3 separate regions of the Homo sapiens genome follow, and all the other regions are linked to region 1. Evidence: promoter capture Hi-C in 16 types of primary human blood cells and fetal thymus (Javierre and others, 2016). All regions are on one chromosome and are shown on one strand. Each heading gives the region's core, a stretch centred on a gene start or on the middle of the fragment in contact. The rest is flanking DNA. Distances are from core to core; before and after follow the strand shown.

Region 1 (2,672 bases), core at 65-2,564:
TGTTTAGTGTAGAAAGGAGGATAAGATAGCCAGGGGCTGATCAACGAGAGATCAGCATACAGTAGGATTAGTCAGGGATGCTGGGAGATGGATCTTGAATAACGGTGAAATTTTATTACTGGATTTCAGTAAAGGGTTAAAAGTACAAAAGTTAAACTTTAAAGACTTTAAACAGAATGCTTTTAACGAGAGACAACATACTTTCAAAAAAACTACCTTCTGGTATGATACCTTGAATCTACAGATTTTAAAGTTGCCTAAGGCAAAAAACTAAGTAATTTTTAAAAACCGTCGTATGTTTTCAGGTTTAAAAAAAAAAAAGTCGCATATTTTCATAAGGTCTGAGAAGCTCGCCAAAACCAAACCTAACTGAATTCTCCTTATGTAAACGAAGACTAAGCCACAAGATTCAATGACCCTAAGCAAACACGCTGCAGAAGACCGTTTAAAAATAGAATACACAAAACTACCACAGGAAACAATTCCGGAAGAGGACTGGGTTATCTTCTGGAAACCCAGCTTTCGTGCTTAAAGACAAACTATTCTTCCCCAAACCAAATCTCCCGATCCCTAAACATTAAGTTCTCACATGTCAGTTGCCTATCTGGTGTCTCCACCCCACCCCAATGATAAAAGCTGTAAAATTCTCTTTAAAAACGTCAGGCTGGGACCGGTGTCCGAGGCACGAGGGGTAGGCAGAGGAAGGCGGCGTGGAGGGAAGGAGCCTGGGGGGTCCGGCCTGGCAGCGCCGAAGCGAGAAGGAAGGGGAGTCCCTGGGGCCAAAGGGGGACCCAGGCTTCCCCAGGCAGCCGCGCCGGGCACGCTGCTTTTGTTGAGCTGGGGGGACCACGGCCCAACCTGGGGTCCGGGCCCTCGCCCGCCCAGCGACCCTGGCACTGTGCGCCGTTGAGTCCCCTTGGCGGGCGCCCGTCCCTCCCGCGCCTGGCTCTGACCTCTGCCCACCCCGGTGCTGCCCACCCCGGCCCGGACTCGGCCGCAGAGCGGGGCTTTGGCCTGCCGGGCTCCGAGACTGTGTCCCCACCCGCGTCCCCGGCCGCCCGCGCCCCCGCGCCCGGGCCCTCGGGGGCCGCCTCACCTGCATGCCCGGAGCCCCCGGGTCGACCCCCGTGTCCAGGACTGCGATGAGCACCCCCCGCCCATCATACTCCGGGTAGCGGCAGAGGAAGGAGGCGGCTCCGGTCTCCTTCTTCGGCAGGAGACCGTGAAAAGGGAAGGGCTCCTCAGTCGCAGCGGTGGCCATGGACGCAGGATGGAGGACGAGGAAGCGGCAAACTGCCAGGCTGCGCGCGGACTAGCAGCGCGAGGACACCCGTGCGGCCTCGGGCCGGAGGCGGGGGCGAGGGGCGGGGTCGGCCCGTCTTCCACCAATCCCGGCCTGCCAGGGAGCGGTGGCCAATCACGTGCTGCTACGTAAGCCAACGGCGCCGCTCTCAGGAGCTAGGCCCGAGTATTGCCCGGGCTGCAGTGAAGGGGGAGGAGTCTGAGGACATTACTGGAGGGTTCGGATCTCGAACCTGGGGCCTTGAAGAGGCCCGCGCTTGGGGTTTTTAGGCAACAGCAGGCCTCCAAGCAGAGTCCTGGTGTCCCGGACCGAATCACTCCCCGAGAGACGGGCAAGGAGATGGACCGCCAGCCAGGAATAATGGGAACCCTTCGCTTGGCAAACGATAGTTTCCAAACTTAAGGTTGTGGATGAAACTTTTTGGTGCGGCTGCTGCAGGAGCCCCAGCCCCGGGGTGCTGCTGACCCGAGGCAAGGGAGCCGGCGCACTCACGCTTAGCCGCTAAGGAGTCTGCGGTGTCGGCGAAAGCTCCGGACATGATTTTGGAAGGTCGTAGGTTAAGGGGTGTAGACTTTGGGTTCCCCTGTGTTGTTATGCCCCTTTGATGGGGGTGAGGTGGTGAGGGGGAGCAATAGGGTGGAGACAGGCAATAGTTTCAGTCAACAGGAAGTGGGTTGTTGGTCATTCCGTCGCCTTTGTAGCCAGTAACAAAGCACGAGACTGAAATGGGCCCCTCCTATCCTCTGCTGATCCTTAGCTTCCGGGATTTCTGAAAAACATCTTTTTTTTTCCTCTTACACTGAAGTTTCTGATTGCTCCTTACGGCTGTCCACTCAATTATAGAGCCATAATTTTCAGTTTTCCAGATTCACAGTGCCTGCCGTCAGTTGCTGCAAGCTGCATAGTGGTCCTCTAATGATCTTTATGTCTATGCTCATGCCAGGGTAATCTTAGCCTTTTATTGTGCCGAAGACCCCTTTGGCAATCTGGTGAGGCCTATTTCTCAAGCAGTGTTTTAAAATGCATACAATGAAATAGATAGGATTACCCAGGAAATAAATTATGTTTAAATGCAGTTATCAAAAATACTAAAGGCAATTTTGTTATATAGCAGGAGCTTTACGTGTGTGTGTATAGTTACAGGTGTACTTCTTTTGCATTAAATAACAGGAGCTAGGGCCAAGGCTAATAAACTACCATAACTTCAAAATAGTGAAGAATATAATTATTTGGAGATAGCGGTGAAAACTGCACTACGATGAACTGATTTTTATTGGTGACATAACAGCATAACTACCCTGGTTTTTGCCTACATTCATACTTGATGTGAAAAAAATTAAGAGGTTTGTATCTTTTTTCTACGGAAGTT
Region 2 (2,672 bases), core at 52-2,551, 4.0 Mb after region 1:
GGCAGGGCTCCTCAAGGGATGGGTGTACCAATGACAACCATGAAAGTATTCTAAGGTATTCCCTAGGACTCCGAGAAAAAACATGCATCTTTCCAAAGGGAAAGAAGGGATTAGATGTTAGCATCCTACTCCATGTCAGATCCAGAGCACCCGGGGGAACTGAAGTTCGTGGATGGAATACAATGACACCTCAGAAAAGAAATACTCCTTTGGTGGAGGCCTTTAAACTTTTGGGGGCTCATTTTGTCTGCCTAACTCGCCCAGCCAGGGCGCAAAATGGCCACTTAGGAGCATGAGTGAGGTGCCAGCGTCCCTACAATCTAAGGAGCAGGGAGTCATCACTGGGGTGGCTGCCGCTCTACCTGTTTGCGACTGTAATAAAACACCTTCTGGAGGCCGAGGGACCCGCTTCATCCTGACTTTTCCCCTCAGTAGCTAGAGAGAAGGCGGCTGAAAAGAGGAGACAGAACTGGTGCTGAGTGGGCCTGGAGCTTCCGAGGCAAGGGAAAGAGGGAGAGGGCTGCAGTTCAAAGTCCAGACGCGCTTTCCTTCCATTCTCTTCCCTTCCTCCCTGCCCTCTGCGCCCCATTTTCCCCTTATCGTGGGTGGGGGCTTCTGATTTGCTGCGGATCCCAGAGATGGTGGGGTTCAGCCTCCGCACTGCTTAGCTAAGTTCCCAGCCCAGCAGTCCCAGCCGGGCTGTTTTCGGTAACCAAAGCACTAGGAATTAACCTCTCTCTCGGCCTCTTCCCTTTCGGTTTCCTTCTTGGGTTGGCTGGAAACTTCACCCAGACACCGAAGCAGCTCTGCCCGGCCTTTTGGCACAGGCCACCGGCCGAGGCCCCACGGGGCGCTCTCCTTCCCCAGGTGCCCCCGACTCCGATCCTGCCCTCAGGGGCTCGCCCGGGACGCGTTTTCCCAGAGGCCGCCGGGGCGGGGTGGGCTGGCTGGCGGGAAGAGGGGGCCGCGGCCCAGGCTCGCCCCGGCGCCGGCCCGGTGGGCACGCGGCCAGCCTCCGGCCCCGACTCGGTCCCTCCCGGCGCCCGCCCCAGCCGAGGCCCCCTCCCGGCCCCGCCGCCCGCCCGCGGGGGCGTGGGAGCGCCGCAGGAGCAGCTGGGACCCGGGCCGGGCCGACAGGCGGCGGCTGCGGCCTAGGGCTCCCGCGCGGCCACCGGCCTCTCCCCTCCCCCTCCCGGAAGCGCGGGGCGGGGTCCCCGGCCGGGCCGTGGGGGCGGGCGCGGGGGCCGGGCCGGGGCGGGACGCGCTCGGCGCTCGCGGGCTCGGCGGGCTGTGCGCGCCCACTCCGGCTCCAGCGGCCAGCGCGCGCGGGCCCAGGCCGCCCGGCTCCAGCCCAGCAGTAGCGGCAGCAGCGGCGGCGGCGGCAGTGCGCGCGAGGCCCTGCGCCCCCAGCAGCTCCTCCCTGGCGCCGTGCATGGAGACGCGGCCCGCCACCCGCCGCTGAGCCCCCGCCGCCCGGCCGGGACCCGCCAGGGCTGGGGTGGCCTCGGGCTCCGGCCGGCCCCGCCGCCCGAGGGCTGCGCGCGGCCCGCGGGCCTCGCCGCCCCGCGCGGATCGTCGCGGCCCGGCCGTCCCGTCCCAGGAAGTGGCCGTCCTGAGCGCCATGGCTCACTCCCCGGTGCAGTCGGGCCTGCCCGGCATGCAGGTAGGCGGGCGCGGGCCGCGGGGCCGGGATGCGCGACCGGGGCGGAAGCAGCAACTTGGCGGTATCCACACGGCGTCCCCCTACGCTCAGCCGGCCGGGGTCGCGCCGGAGCCTGGCTCCCCGCGCGCCCGGCTCGGCCGGGGGTCCGAGTCCGAGTCCCTGGGCGTCCCTGCCGGCTCCGGCGGCCGAGGTCTCCGGCGTGTGCGTGCAGGAGCCGTAGGAACCGCGGCCTGGGTCCGGATGTGGGGGTGCGGGCGCCTAGTCCTCCGCGCTCCCCTCGCCCCAACACTCTTCCGGAGCTGCAGGCCCTGGGTGGCCCTGTCCCCGGGAGAAGTGAGGTGGAGTGATGCCCTTGGAGGCCCCCGCCGGGTCCCGGGGCCCTGCGTGGTGGCCGGGTTGGCGGAGGGCCCCAGGACGCGTCCCCCAGGCTCGTCCCCCACCCCCGGGCAGGCGGGCGGGAGACCTGGGCAGGGCGGGGACGGGGAGCGCGCCTGGACTCGTCCGGGCCCGAGCGGAGTAGGCAGGGTGGAGTGGAGGAAGGTAACCGCGAGTTCCACTTGCAGTGGCTTTGCCCGGAGCCCCCGTGCACCTGCGGACCGGGGGAAAGTGCGAGTTGCAAACCTTCTGGAAGGAGGAATCCCTCGGACAGCCGCGCACCAGGGTCCCGGGCCCGGCCCCGGGACCCTGGACTTTCACTTTGAGACTTGGTTGCATTTACAGGAATTCTTCGCCCAGTAAACCTCTCTTTCGGTACTTGGTGACACCTTGGCCTACCAGTGACTTTTTGGGGAGTGGGAGAGGAGTTGAATTTCAAATTTACATGTATAAGTTAAAGGTTTTTTGTTGTTGTTGTTTTCGTTGTCGTTGCTTTTAGCCCTTTGAAAAACAAAGCTACCGTCCTTGGCTAACTCTTGTAAACTTTGTAGGCGCAGAAATGGTGGCAAAATGCTTAGGATGGAAATCTTAGGATGCAGTTAGGATATGTCATGAAAGTTTGCTCTGCCAGTTT
Region 3 (2,672 bases), core at 113-2,612, 3.5 Mb after region 1:
TGCCCATTAAACCCAGAACGGAGGTGTTTTGCTCTCTGCGCTAGATCGGTATTTTCCCCTACCACTTTAAGATTACGCTTCAGGCCAGTGTTAGGCTTTCTGGTGGGGTGGGACGCAACAGGCGGCCTCCTCCACCGCAGCGATGGCGGCTATGAAACCTCTGGGTATTTGGGCGGGAGGCGCGGCAGGTATTCTCCCAAAACTGGGTTTTCAAGACCACCACTCTCTGCGGAGGCCGACCCGGCAGGTAAGGAACTGTCCATCGGAAGGCAACGGGCGTGGCGTGAGCAGCCCGACCAATCAGCAGAGCCGCCGTTCAGTCAGGCTCCCCGCCCGGGGTACCCGCCCAGTCCCCAACCACTGAGCATGCGCCGCGGGCCTGGCGCAAATCCCCGCCTGGCGCGCCCTCTCCGCGGCCCTGTGAGGGTTAGGCTGCGCCGGGCTTCCTCAGAGAGACAGAAACGGAGCCGGGGCGGGAGCGGGCCCTTAGGGACAGGAAAGCGGTTAGGGTATTGGGGGGAAAGTCCCTCACAGGGTGGCTGTCGCTAGCGGCCGCCAGCTCTGCGTCACGGTGGGCTCGCAAGCCGGCGCATCGCAGTTTCCCTGGTACCCCGCCTGGCGGTCCGGCGCGGAGGGGCGGCAGACCGGCTAAATCGGCCCCAGTGAGGGCCGCCGTGTCACCTGAGCCCCTTCCAGGCCGTTGTCCTCAGGTTACAGGCGACATAACCGAGGCTCCGAAGTATTGCCCACGTCCAAGGTGACGCAGCTGGCCGTCCCGGCGGGCCGGAGTCTGGGAGTCTCCCACGCCTGGCCCGGCCCAACCGTCATCGTCCCGCCGCGAGCTCCGTGCCTCCGGGGACTGAACGGTGGGGAGGCCGAGGCGCCACACGAGCGCGCGGCGCCCCGCGCCAGGTTCCGAGCAGGGACGCTCCGTCCAGGTCCGCCTGGCCGGCCGCGGGTTCCGATCGGTGCCACATAAATAAAGGCTACTTTCCTGAGACCTCTGTCCCCGCAGAGGCCCCGGGCGCAGAGGGGGGGCGTGGTGCACCGAGCTCCGACCCTGCCGGTGACTTCGGGGTCCCCTCGAGCGCAGCCGGGCTCCCTGGGCAGGAAACCCTGCTCCGAAACCGCGCATCGTCCAGCCTCGGCTGTGCGCCCTCTTGGTGGCGTGCGCAGTCCCCTCCTCCGGTCTTCGGACGTGCGGCCCGGGGCGGAGGCGGCCCCGACCCCCCACCTTCCCCAGTGAGGGTCCCGCGCGGCACGCCGCCCCTGCCAGTCCGGCCGCCTAGCTCCAGCGCCGGGCCGCGCCGACCTGCCTGGCCCGCCGTCCCGCCGCGGCGGCCCCTCCTCCGCCGTCCGGGCGCCCCGCCCCGCCCGCGCCGCGCCGGACACCCCGCCCCGAGGAGGCGGCCCGGCGAGTGGTCGCCGAGGGAGGCTGGTGGCATGGGGGAGCCGCCGCCGCCACACGCACGGTCGCCCGGAGCGAGCCCGGGCGCTGCTGCGATCGCGGGGGGCCGCGGACGCCGAGGGGGGCGCCTTGGGGCGTGACACGGTGCAGAGGGCGCGGCCTGGGCTGCGGCGGCCGGACTCGCGGCGAGCAGCGGGGGGAGCAGGCGGCGGCGGCGCCGGGAGCGGCGGGCGGAGCGGGCCGGGCGCCGAGGGCGCACCTGGCGGCCGCGCGGCCGGGCCGGGCCGCGGGAGCAGGCGGAGGCGGAGGCGGCGGGGGCAGGAGGATGTCGCAGCCGCCGCTGCTCCCCGCCTCGGCGGAGACTCGGAAGTTCACCCGGGCGCTGAGTAAGCCGGGCACGGCGGCCGAGCTGCGGCAGAGCGTGTCTGAGGTGGTGCGCGGCTCCGTGCTCCTGGTGAGTGCGGGACGACCGCGGGCCGGGGGAGGATGGCGGGGGCGCAGGCAGCTGCGGGCCCCGGGCCGGGCGCCTCTTAGTCGGCAGGGCTGAGGCAGAGCGGCCGACCCTGCTGGGTCCGCGGAATCAAGAGGTGGGGCCGGCGGGAGGGAGTTGGACAGGGGAGAAGAGAAGGTCCTGGAGGGGCTGCAACTCCCAGACCCCTCCCCGCCACCCAAGATCCTGTCCCCATCGCTGTCCCCTTCCTCCTGGGAAATTTCCGCAGAGTGATGTCGCCCTGTCACTCTTTTCACCCCGCTCTCTCCCAATTTACCTGCTTTCTGTCAACTGGGAAATTACACTCTCCCCCCTCCCCCGCATCCCTCCCCCGTATCCCTCCCCCGGCCTCCCTCTCCTTCCATGTTTTGGAGGGGCGCAGGGGAATTGAGGTGGGGGCTTCCTCATCCAGTCTGCGCTCAGGGTGGGAGATGCCCCTGCTAACCCTTTGAGTTGGCTGAACTCCAGGAGGGAAGGACTTCGGCATCCTCTCCTGCGCCCCCCACCTCCAAGCCGGTATCCTGAAGTTTGGCCGCCTTTTAGGAAGGCTTGGGGGGCATGATGGGAACCCTCGCTAATTTAGTATTGGTGCAAATTCCTGTGACGTTTGGGGGTTCTAAGTAAGCAAAGCCATCAGCCCAAAACGAATCTTCCCGTGGCAGAACGTCTTTAGAGAATAGGCCTCTGGGTGTGAGGAAGATGAAGTTTTCGATTAACTTTTTCACAGCCAGCGCCGGTCCTGCTGTATTTGGAAACGCACTACAACCCGATTCA

What was found. The method cuts DNA at HindIII sites, captures the fragments that hold promoters and counts their contacts. A CHiCAGO score of 5 or more calls a contact.
Region 2: a contact is called between the fragment with the promoter of STK24 here and the fragment with the promoter of TPP2 in region 1, in 7 of 17 cell types (activated CD4 T cells, naive CD8 T cells, total CD8 T cells and 4 more). The highest score is 14.3, in activated CD4 T cells.
Region 3: the fragment with the promoter of DOCK9-DT here is called in contact with the fragment with the promoter of TPP2 in region 1 in 4 of 17 cell types (naive CD8 T cells, fetal thymus, total B cells and 1 more); the score reaches 12.5 in naive CD8 T cells.

Annotation. Positions count from the first base shown.
Region 1 is chr13:102,595,628-102,598,299 of GRCh38, reverse strand. It overlaps TPP2 (tripeptidyl peptidase 2), which reads right to left and starts at 1,314. Exons shown (of 30, transcript NM_001330588.2): 1 at 1,097-1,314. The coding sequence starts at 1,261. LOC107984588 (a long non-coding RNA gene) reads left to right here and starts at 1,358. Exons shown (of 2, transcript XR_001749984.3): 1 at 1,358-1,852. RefSeq lists silencers at 801-1,090, 1,251-1,540 and enhancers at 1,611-1,670, 1,721-1,880. The HindIII fragment of the contact is 7,622 bases long and covers 1-2,672 here.
Region 2 is chr13:98,575,736-98,578,407 of GRCh38, reverse strand. It overlaps STK24 (serine/threonine kinase 24), which reads left to right and starts at 1,301. Exons shown (of 11, transcript NM_001032296.4): 1 at 1,301-1,663. The coding sequence starts at 1,622. STK24-AS1 (STK24 antisense RNA 1) reads right to left here and starts at 1,153. Exons shown (of 1, transcript NR_046542.1): 1 at 1-1,153. RefSeq lists an enhancer at 588-777 and silencers at 868-1,017, 1,038-1,347, 1,398-2,267. The HindIII fragment of the contact is 9,197 bases long and covers 1-2,672 here.
Region 3 is chr13:99,085,413-99,088,084 of GRCh38, reverse strand. It overlaps DOCK9-DT (DOCK9 divergent transcript), which reads right to left and starts at 1,362. Exons shown (of 1, transcript NR_047482.1): 1 at 1-1,362. It also overlaps a transcript of DOCK9 not described here. RefSeq lists enhancers at 1-236, 799-1,360 and silencers at 241-470, 1,051-1,110, 1,201-1,510, 1,551-2,030. The HindIII fragment of the contact is 5,433 bases long and covers 1-2,672 here.